Linked DNA regions of Homo sapiens: all the other regions are linked to region 1. The links are contacts of gene promoters, found by promoter capture Hi-C in blood cells and fetal thymus (Javierre and others, 2016). All regions are on one chromosome and are shown on one strand. The core of a region is centred on a gene start or on the middle of the fragment in contact, and the rest is flanking DNA. Distances in the headings are between cores, read along the strand shown.

Region 1 (3,411 bases), core at 508-3,007:
TTGAACCTGGCAGACAGAGGTTGCAGTGGGCCATGATCACACCACTGCACTCCAGCCTGAGCAACAGAGCAAGAACCTGTAACAACAACAACAAAACCCCCAATCATATTTTTACACACTATCTGACATAGTTTGAGTATTTCTCCCTTCCAAATCTCATCTTAAAATCTGATCCCAAGTGTGGGGCCTAGTTGGGGGTGTCTGGGTCACAGGGGCAGATCCTTCAGGAAAACTTAGTGCTGCCATTGCATAATGAGTTCTCATTCTGTTAGTTGCCTCCAGAGCTGATTGTTAAAAAGAGCCTGACCACTACCTCCCCTTTCTCTTGCTTCTCTTCTGGCCATGTGATCTGCACAGGCAGCCTCCCCTTCACTGAGTGGAAGCAGCCTGAAGCCCTCACCAGAAGCAGCCTGCAGAAGTGTGAGCCAAATAAACCTCTTTTATTTGTAAATTATTCAGTCTCAGGCATTCCTTTTTAGCAACACAGACTAAGACACTATCAAAGAACAACTGAAAATTTAAAATGTCATTTACATAATATCAAGAAGTATATTTTTCCCCCATCCTTAGATTTATGGATAAATCTGACATAGGGTGATATGGTTTGGCTGTGTCCCTGCCCAAACCTCATCTTGAACTGTAGTTACCATAATCCCCAGGTGTTGTGGGAGGGACCCGGTGGGAGGTAACTGAATCATGGGGGTGGTTATTCCCATGCTGTTCTCTGATAGTGAGTGAGGTATCACAAGATCTGATGGTTTTCTAAGGGGCTTTTCCCTCCTTGCTCCTCACTTCTCCTTCCTGCAGCCCTGTGAAGAAGGAGGTTTGCTCCCGCTTCTGCCATGATTTTAAGTTTCCTGAAGTCTCCCCAGCCATGCTGAACTGTAAGTCAATTAAACGTCTTTCCTTTATAAATTACTCAGTCCCAGGTATGTCTTTATTAGCACTGTGAAAATGGACTATATAAGACTAGACCTGACAAAAGATCAAAACATTTGCTGAGTGAAATAACACCTAAATAAATGAAGAGGCTTACTTTAAGGGTCATTACTAAATATTGTTAACATGTAAATTATTCTTACATGGATCTATAGACGAAATGTAACCAATCACAATCCCAACTTTTTAAAGTGACAAGCTGATTTTAACATTCATATGAAAACCCAAGGGACTAGATGAGCCAGAACATTTTTGAAAAATAACAAAAAATTGGAGGCCAAACACGATCTGATTTTAAGACTCTTACGAATCTACAGGAATCAAGACAATGTGGTATTTTTGTAGAGAGAAATATAATAAATTGTCGGAACAGAATAGAAAGTCTAAGAATAGACCCACAACTGATGCTTTAGGGACAACTGATTTTAAACATAGGTGCAAAAGCTATTCAGTGAGAAAAAGAAAGCTCTCTAAACAAATGACACTATTCACATACAAAAAAATGACCTAAGATCCATACTTTGCACCACAGACAAAAATTAGCTCTAATTGGATCACAGACCTCAATATAAAACCTAAAATTCTAAAACTTGTGTCAGAAAACACAGAAGAGATCCTCTGTGGCCTTGGGTTAGGCAAATTCCTTGGACAGACAAAAAACAAACCCTAAGATCCGATCTGAGCCGCCGCACAACCCTGCTCTGGCCACTTAGCCTGAGGTCACTGCTCGGGTCCCGCCCCTCTCCCCGCCCGGGACCCTCCTGGCTCCGCCCCAATCCGCCCGCTCCGCTCCACCCCGCCCCGCTGCCTCGTCTCCATCCGGAAGAGCCGCCGGGGCAGGGAAGTTGAGGCGGTGCGCGGCCCGGCGTCGGTCGAGAGCGCAGGCCCGGCAGAGCCGCAGGCGCTAGGCCGCCCGACACAGCCCGCGCGTCCCCGCGGCCGGTGGCGCCTCGAGCGGCCACGTGCACGCGCGCACTCCGCCTCACCAGCCTTCTTGCGCCGGAGACGAACCCGCTGCCTGGCTGGAGCTCTCTGGGCCCTTCGGCCTCGGGAGCAACGCGTTCCCGGCGACTTCTGACACAGCCAGTAAGTGATAGCCGCCTCCTCCTTTCGCGGTTATGTTTTTCTCCAGTTCGTCCCAAGTCTCGTTCCCGTCTCATTACTTCAAAAACTATTCAACTCCGGGACCGGACAGGCACGGGAGCTGCCCGGGAGAAGAGCCCCAGAAGTCTCAGAGACTGCCAAGGTGTTGTGGGGCAGGGGCTGCGTGCAAAGACCCTGTGAATTAGAAAGTTTGGAAAGCATGCCTCCAAAACCGAGCGACTCCACGTTTGCCAGGCGCCCCTGGGGCAGCCGAGCGGCCCGGAGGCGCGAAATGGCGCGCCCCCGCAGTGAGAGGGGCGGAGGGAGTGGGGCGGGGCCGAGGGCGCGCGTCCCGCCAGCCCGCGCGGAGGGGGCGGGGCTCCCGGCAGGTGCAGGCGGGCGGGGCGGGGCTGCCGCGATTCCCGGAGACAGCTGGGGGATGCCAGTGCAGTTAGGCACTCTCCTGTCTTCTTTTCGACGCTTCGCTGTGGTCAAGAGGACAAAGTAAAGCAAATGATTTTATTTTGACCCCAAATATTCAATAAGAAAAGGAAAGAGAACTTGAAAGTTGTGAAATGACCCTTCTCAAAACAAAAAGTCCCTCCAGTGTCTATCTGGGTGGGTAGTAGGTACGTTTATTGATTTAGCAAACTGCTGATAACACAGTTGATTAGTCAGTTTTGCATAGATGTTGAAAGGGAATGAATAACGATGGTCCATATAACCATAGAAATGCTAGCCTAACTAGGCAAAATTTAATCTGACCTTAATTTGAACGTTGAATTCTGCTGCTGCCCTTTTCCTGCCTTGTGTGGAGCTGTTTTTCAAATTGCTAAATTTGTGGCTCTAAACTTAATATGCTTTAATAGAATCATAGTGATTCTCTTGTAGCCACTGTTGGGAGTCCAGATTTTTTTTTTTTTTTTTTTGGGCAAAGTCCACATTGTGGAGATATTCCTTCCCAAGTGCTTTTTCTGCTTTACACTTGGCTGAATTTATATTGCTTAACCAAAAACAAATTACCGTGGAGGCCGTAATTTATTTCCACTCATTGTTTTGGATATACATTTACTCATTCTTACTCTCACTCTGGCCTCCTATAGTGGTCAGGATTCTTGACCTAACTGCTATATGTACTTCTTAAACGTTTCACACCTTGCGGAATAGTAGGTTCTCAGAGAAAGCAAAATATAGCAAATAGCGTGTATAACACGTACTTAGGATGATAAACTGTGAACTTTATAGCAGTCTCCTTTAATATTCGTATTTGTAGAGTCCAGTACAATAAATGTTGGACAAATGAAGTAAGTCAAATTTAAGTACACCTCTTCTCCAGTCCTCAATCTCTTTCCAAACGAAATAAGTGTTTCTCTCTTTTTTTTTTTTTTT
Region 2 (3,411 bases), core at 548-3,047, 390 kb after region 1:
ACAGGCGTGAGCCACCGCGCCCAGCTATATTACTAACGTTTTGTGAAGGGCACTGTGATGTATGTAGTAATCTTTTACATTGAGCATTTAAACTCCAGTCTGTAGTGGTGTATCCGGAGGGCGAAGAAGCTTCAAAATAGAATCGGTTTTTGGAAATTTTTGACCAGAAGTTAATATAAGTGATGACTAAATTAAAGCATTTTAATATTTAGACAGAGATACAGTAAAATGCAAGCTTTGAATCAATTTTTGTAATGTTCACAATACATCAAAGATAAGGAGCTTTTTTTAGATTAGATCTCCTAGACACCCAGGAAGAAGATTTTACCTATCTCTTGAGGGTACTTGAGGGTTTGATAATTACTGCCTTAAATTTTAAAGCTACGTAGGGAAGGACTGGTTCAAAAAACATCTAAGCAAAACTGCGAATAAGAATTAGTGGTCTGAGATTGAGAGGATGGAAATTCTCTCCATAGGGCAATAGGGAAAAGAAAATAAGATTTACTCATCAACTGGAGTTGGGGGGCTGTTGATATAACCCAGTGATAAAGTAACCTATAAAGCTTAGGGGTCATTTGGGGGAGGTAGGTTCACTTTTCACTTGATTTGCCAGATAACCTGGAGACCCAAACATTTTATTTTTTCATAAATATCTGAATTCTGGGCAAATTCTCTTTCCTCATCTTGATGAGGGGTGGAGAAGAGCATTGACATTAAGAGAGGCCAGATGGATTAAGAAAAGGACTCATATAGGTCTACATAAATTTTGGAAAGTTATTAAACATTCTAAGTGATAGAAATGCTATAGCATGCTACGTGGCTTCAAGGAAATTATGGTTTATCAGTATACAAATAATATGGAAATGAAAATTTAACATTTAGAAGGTAACCACTAGTGCAAGATAACACCAGGAGAAAAAGAAATTCCCAATTGAGAGTCAAATGAGCACGTGTAATAATAAGCAGTATGACTTCTAAGAGAAGTGCATGTTTTGTACAAAGGAAACGGACAGAACCAAAGCCAAAAATAACAAAGGGAAACACATACATCACAAAACAAATTTAACAACAAAAACCAACCCTTAGGTCTCCAAATACTTGCTTCAAAATTCTATAGGGTCCCGATCATGATGCTGTTACATTGTTAAGAAGGTTCTATTTCAATTTAATGATTGTAGTATTTCTCCAGACATATTAAATTTCTTATCTTTGTGGTTGATATCTCAGCCCTTTGAGCTCCTCGCATTCGCAAACTTTGTGGTGGCACTATCACTGATTTTGATACAAAATTGAAATTGGAGGCTCATACCTTTTCTGTCTTCTGCCAGACTCCCCATTCACTTAGAAACCAAATGCAGATTGTGAAATATGTCTTTGTTCTCATAGCCTGACCAACTCTCCTCTTAACTTTCATAGACGTTTATTAACTAGTTTTTCTACCCTTCGTTGTGACTCTTTCCTACTCAGTTTTTACTCTGATATCCAAGTGCACATTTGATTGTCATTCACATGCTGAGAACTTTTTATTGATTTCTCTTTCGAGATGAAAAACCCACTCTTTACAGAATTACATAAAACATCGTTCCTGATCTGTCCATTGCCATGTATGCCTACCATAACGATTTGACAACTCTGCCATTATATGTTATTTCTTCTATCCGAATTATTTTCCTTACTGTCTTGTTCTTATAGAACTCCTTCATTATTCAGAAGTAGGTGGGGAGAAGCCCTGTTTTGCTTGTTCTTAATTTCTAATTATACAAGTAATAAGTGAATATCTCTTATAATTCAGAAAAGTCAGATAAATCTGAAGTTGGTGGGGGACTTTTTATATTATATAGGTCTATTTATTTTCCTTGCCATAAACTTCATGAATAGAGACTGATTGATTTTTTTAAGCTCTACACACTGTTTATCCCTTAGAAGGCTCAATAAGATATTTTTATACTTAATGGATATTTAGAATATTATTTTTCTATTACAAGTGAACTCTTAAAAAGGATAAGTTGAAAGAAGAGAGAATAAAGGCCCTCAGAAACTTAGATAAACTAATTTTCTTTGTCCCTAATGATTGCCTCTGAAAAGTTGAGATTTTTCTTGCACTTAATTCTTTAACTTGTTCACACTTTGACGTGTGTGTAACATCAAAAAACAATTTCAACAAATTGAGTTTAATTAATTGGCTTTGATTAATGATTCATGAATTGGGCAGTGTCTCTATAAAAATAGGCCATCAGATGAGCTAAGTGGAGGAGGTGGGCTTTCTAGGCAGAAAGAGGCTAAAGAAAGAAGGAACAAAAAGTGAATTGGTTATTGTAAGTTACTTTCCTTATAAGGTTAAAACAGACTTCTTTATCATGCTAATTCAGGTAAACTGGGCCCTTTCTGATTGGTTGCTGTGAATATCCTGTTTTTTTTTTTTTTTTTTTTTTTGGGAAAACTTGGTGATGTTGAAGTTCAGTTTGGTTATGTGGCTCCTAGCAGGAGTGGCTCCATTCTTGTTTGGTCTGGTCTGTTAAGACTCAGCCCAAAACAAACCAGAGTGACTGCATTGTGGTTTGGCGTGGGCTATTAAGTCTCAGTCCAAAACAATGGCATTCCATAGTTTTGTGTAACCATAATATAAGAGATTTTTGGAGTGGTTGAAGGTTGGTCAAGGAATATTAATGAGGAGTTGAATTGGAACTGTCATTCTCATTTTTTTGTCCTCTCTCTACCTTACTCTATGATTTTCAGAAAATGAATCTTTCTGTACTGTAGTTTTCTCGTAAATAAATGGAAGGCAGATCGAATTAATTTCTAAAGTCTCTTTGAAGCCCAAATGTTCTGATTATACTAAACTAGCTTGAAAAATGTGGTTATTTTGAAAGTAGCTATTAATTTTAGCTAATTTTGTTAAACATGTAAATTTCACAAGAAGCCAGTTCTTAATTCATTTCTTTAAACTACTGGTTTACTGGTTGTCAGGCACTCTATTAGGTAAGGAATGCACTTAAAAAAAAAGTCCTTATCTTCAGGCATGTTAAGCTTTTAAAAACTCTAAAAAACCCTAAAACATTACCTGTTCATTGGAGAATAATTTTAAATATGCTTGGGCATTTTTGTGTGCTGTTTATTAAAAATATATGTTACAAATTTTAATGTCTTATTTTTACTATGTAAATGTGAGTTTGGCATATAATACACCATAATTTGTGAATTTTCTTATTGAATATCAGGGGATATAATTTTTGCCATTATAAACCTTAAAAAACAACACTGTGATTCCATCTATGTAAATAAATCTGTTAAATTCTCTTTTTTCTCTTGGTTCTGTAAACTTGTTATTCCTAAACATTAGTTCATGTAAGGCTGATCAGGCTTGTAAATGAATTTGATTTGTTTTTGAAATGTAATAATTTTCAAGATTTG
Region 3 (3,411 bases), core at 673-3,172, 370 kb after region 1:
TCAAGTGATGAAAAATAGGAAACCTAATTTTTCAAATACTGTCAAGTTTTAGTTTTCAAATGTTTGTCATTATAGGAAAACAGAGATCCAGGCAGTTGTTTCTCCAGCTGGTGTCTTTACACAGAATTGGAGCTGTCCAGTGGGGCTGAGTATGCTATTCCAAACTAGAGTAGGTGTGATAGAGATAATTGGGCAAATTTCAAGGAGTAAATACTGATTCATGCTTTTTATTCTGCTTGGACAAATCTCTGGTTTAAACAAGGTGTTTTTCTTAGCCTCAAAGCAATGCAGAGGAGGGTAGGGAGGTTGGGGACACACTGTTGAGATAAATTTGTTTTTAAATCTTCTTTCTAGTGCATAGTAGAGAGAGAAGGCAACTAAAGAGCAAAATTTGCATATACCCTGGAAAGCCCTACTTCTTGATTAACTTTATTTGGGATGGTCTCTTTATAGCGCTTTTAAGTTTTGGAGTAGAAAGATGAATTCAGGTAAAGAAAACTAGACAAACTAAGTTGTAATCATTAAATGACTGCTTCCCTTCTAATTTCCTCCTTAGAAAACTACAGAAAAAAGTTGTTAAATACCTTCTTGGAGCCTCCAAGTAGTATTATCTTTATTTTAAAAGCTTTCATCATAGTTGTTTCTTAAAAGCCTCTTTGAAACATTGACTTCTGGCCAGGCACTGTAGCGCACGCCTGTAATCCCAGCAATTTGGGAGGCCAAGGCAGGAGAATTGCCTGAGTCCAGGAGTTTGAGACTAGCCTGGGCAACATGGCCAGACCCCGTCTCTAAAAAGGAAAAAAGATAAAAATCATAGAAACACTGATTTTCTTTTAGTCTAATTTTTACATAAAGAGAAGAACCTTAATAAGGACCAGGCCGTCTGATAAATTGTGATTTGCAAGCACAACTCCTAAACACTCACCATGAAAAAACAATATTTTTACAACTAAGAAAAGGAATTTGGCTGAAAGTCATAATCTAATAAAACCTTAGATTTATATGTTATAGAATTCTGTAGCTTTCACAGTATTTTATCTCATTTGATTCTCACAGCTCCCCACTCCCCAGGTTAATTTGTAACATTGAAGGTTTGCTCTTCCTAGGACTTAGTCCAGAATAATTATTGAGCCAGACACACATTCTTATGTGTGTGTTGTTCCTTGATTTCCATGGTTTTCTGCTAAATCATCAAGAGTGCAGGAGTGTAGTACTCTGAATCATTTTCCTTTGTGAATGAAAAGAAGCCATTATGCCCTCAGATGGTTTATGACAGAAGGCTCCATGTGTAATGCCTACTGCTAGTCTTTGACTCTTTCCTCGGTAGTACATCACACTTATGCTACCCACCCCCTGCAACCCCTAAGCTGCCTGACTCTATAGGGACTATGACAGAGGAGGAAAAACAGTCTGGTCTTTTTGGGAAGACTCCTTCCCTTTCCATGGCCCCCTTGAGTTCCTTTTCTTGGGGAAGGTAGGGTGGAAGGGATGGAGGATAAACACTTCTACACGTAACGGCAGTATCCATTTGGATTCCTGTAAGCCCACGATGGATCTCCCAGACAGTAGTGAAATAATAGTAGCCTCTTTATTGATGAAGTTGTTTATCCTTTTTTCCCTAGGATGTTTCTGAACTTCAGGTGGCAGTCATTAAAAAGATGAAATTTTGTGCCTATTTAGTCATAAGGGTGTTTGAACAGTTATGGTATTGGCACCTATACATATTTTACTGGAGATTTTCCCTTGTATAAACAAAAAATTTGGACCAAGCATGGTAGCTCACCCCTGTAATCCCAACACTTTGGGAGGCTGATGGGGGGTGGATAGCTTGAGGATAGGAGTTTGGGACCAGCCTGGGCAATGAGACCCCATCTCTACAAAAAATAAAAAGAATTAGCCATATATGGTGATGTGCCCCTGTAGTGCCAGCTACTTGGGAACCAAGGTTGGAGAATCCTTTGCACCCCAAGAGTTCAAGGCTGCAGTGTGCAATGATCATGTGACTGCATTCCAGCCTGCATGACAGAGTAACACCCTGTCTCTTGATTTAAAAAAAAAAAATTGATAAAATGAGTTAAAGTAAAATGACTTGTTTTTTGTCTAACATGAAATAATAATGAAAAAGTTTTATTTATAACTTGAGAGTGTTTAAAGTATTCTGTTACGTCCTGTGAACAGAAAGTTTTCTTATTTTTATTCTTATTTTTGTACCCTGTTCTGGCTTTAATTTTTTAACTGTTTGAGATAATTTATATATTCAAAGATGTGAACACTATGACACTCCCTATATTAGGATATGACACATTCATTAGGTAGTTAAAGAGGACTTTTATATACCTGTTTTAATGAATAAAATTAGTAATGTGTTTCACTTTTTTCATCTGTCAAGTTTTCTATGTAATATTAGCATAAAATTTCTGGACATTTTGAAGTGTGCTGTTACTTAGCAGAAGAGCAGATCTTTTCTGAAAATTTATTATAGTCCTACTTTGCCAGAAGTCTCAAAAATAATCAAAAGATAAATAATCGCTATGTAGTAGCAATTTGTTATCTTATATACGTCTGCCCTCTTGTGTGTCTGGACTTGGGCGTCTTGATTTTGTTTTATTTGGGGAAAGTCACCAAAAAAACCCCTATAAAATTAAAACTATAATTAGAGCGTTTTATCGTTAGTATCAATTGTAAGTGTATTATAGAGCAGCCCCACTGAGTTTTCAAGAACATTCATTTTAATATAGTGATTCTGATTTGCATTAAACAAATATATATTCTTAACCAATTAAAATATAAAAGGCAACATTAAGCATTTTAAAATTGTTTTTAGTGCCCTGTAAATTAAGATAAGAACTTATTCTATAGTAGAACATATTTGAGCATTTAGTATATTAAATTTTAAAAATAAATTGTTTTCTTATATCTTATTCTTTACACTTTATGATGAAGAATAATTATTTAAAGAGTTTATTCTACTTTATAATTTGAGTTATAGTATTCTGTAATCCTCACAGAATAAGATTTTAATTTCTATCAAAGAATGAAGAACAAAAAAATTAGTTATTTCTGTTTACTGAGAAAAATATTGTAACAAACAGTGTAATCAAAGGAATATGACTAATCAGTTCAAATTTTCCACTTGTTTTTAAGACTAGGGATACTTTCTGTATTGGTAATTTACTAAAACCAGTGAGGTGAGTGTATCACCTGTTGTTTATAAGCTTTCTACTTGTTTTTAGGAATTTCCAGCTTGTAGATGAGGCGTCACTTAAGAAATCTCTGCCCTTCTGTTCTTCAGATATCCCTGAACCAAACACTTTCCACTCCCCATCTCTAGTATCTCTCATGGGTTCAGAAAATTTAATAGTGTCTCCTTCACTATTGAGTTAGCAACACTTGTGTAAGAAACCAAGGTCA

What was found. The method cuts DNA at HindIII sites, captures the fragments that hold promoters and counts their contacts. A CHiCAGO score of 5 or more calls a contact.
Region 2: a contact is called between a fragment that was not itself captured here and the fragment with the promoter of MCM9 in region 1, in 1 of 17 cell types (total CD4 T cells). The highest score is 5.6, in total CD4 T cells.
Region 3: a fragment that was not itself captured here is called in contact with the fragment with the promoter of MCM9 in region 1 in 3 of 17 cell types (non-activated CD4 T cells, total CD4 T cells and naive CD4 T cells); the score reaches 6.2 in non-activated CD4 T cells.

The regions. Positions count from the first base shown.
Region 1 is chr6:118,933,505-118,936,915 of GRCh38, reverse strand. MCM9 (minichromosome maintenance 9 homologous recombination repair factor) reads left to right here and starts at 1,757. Exons shown (of 14, transcript NM_017696.3): 1 at 1,757-2,025. It overlaps LOC124901389 (a long non-coding RNA gene), which reads right to left and starts at 2,001. Exons shown (of 2, transcript XR_007059729.1): 1 at 1,926-2,001. RefSeq lists silencers at 1,579-2,008, 2,259-2,508. The HindIII fragment of the contact is 20,540 bases long and covers 1-3,411 here.
Region 2 is chr6:118,541,923-118,545,333 of GRCh38, reverse strand. The region is part of intron 3 of CEP85L (centrosomal protein 85L); the gene reads left to right. Among named protein-coding and RNA genes, the nearest start is that of PLN, 4.7 kb to the left of the region's middle. The HindIII fragment of the contact is 2,464 bases long and covers 566-3,029 here.
Region 3 is chr6:118,561,013-118,564,423 of GRCh38, reverse strand. All of the region lies in intron 3 of CEP85L (centrosomal protein 85L), which reads left to right. PLN (phospholamban) reads right to left here. Exons shown (of 2, transcript NM_002667.5): 2 at 2,708-3,411. Among named protein-coding and RNA genes, the nearest start is that of PLN, 14 kb to the right of the region's middle. The HindIII fragment of the contact is 2,590 bases long and covers 628-3,217 here.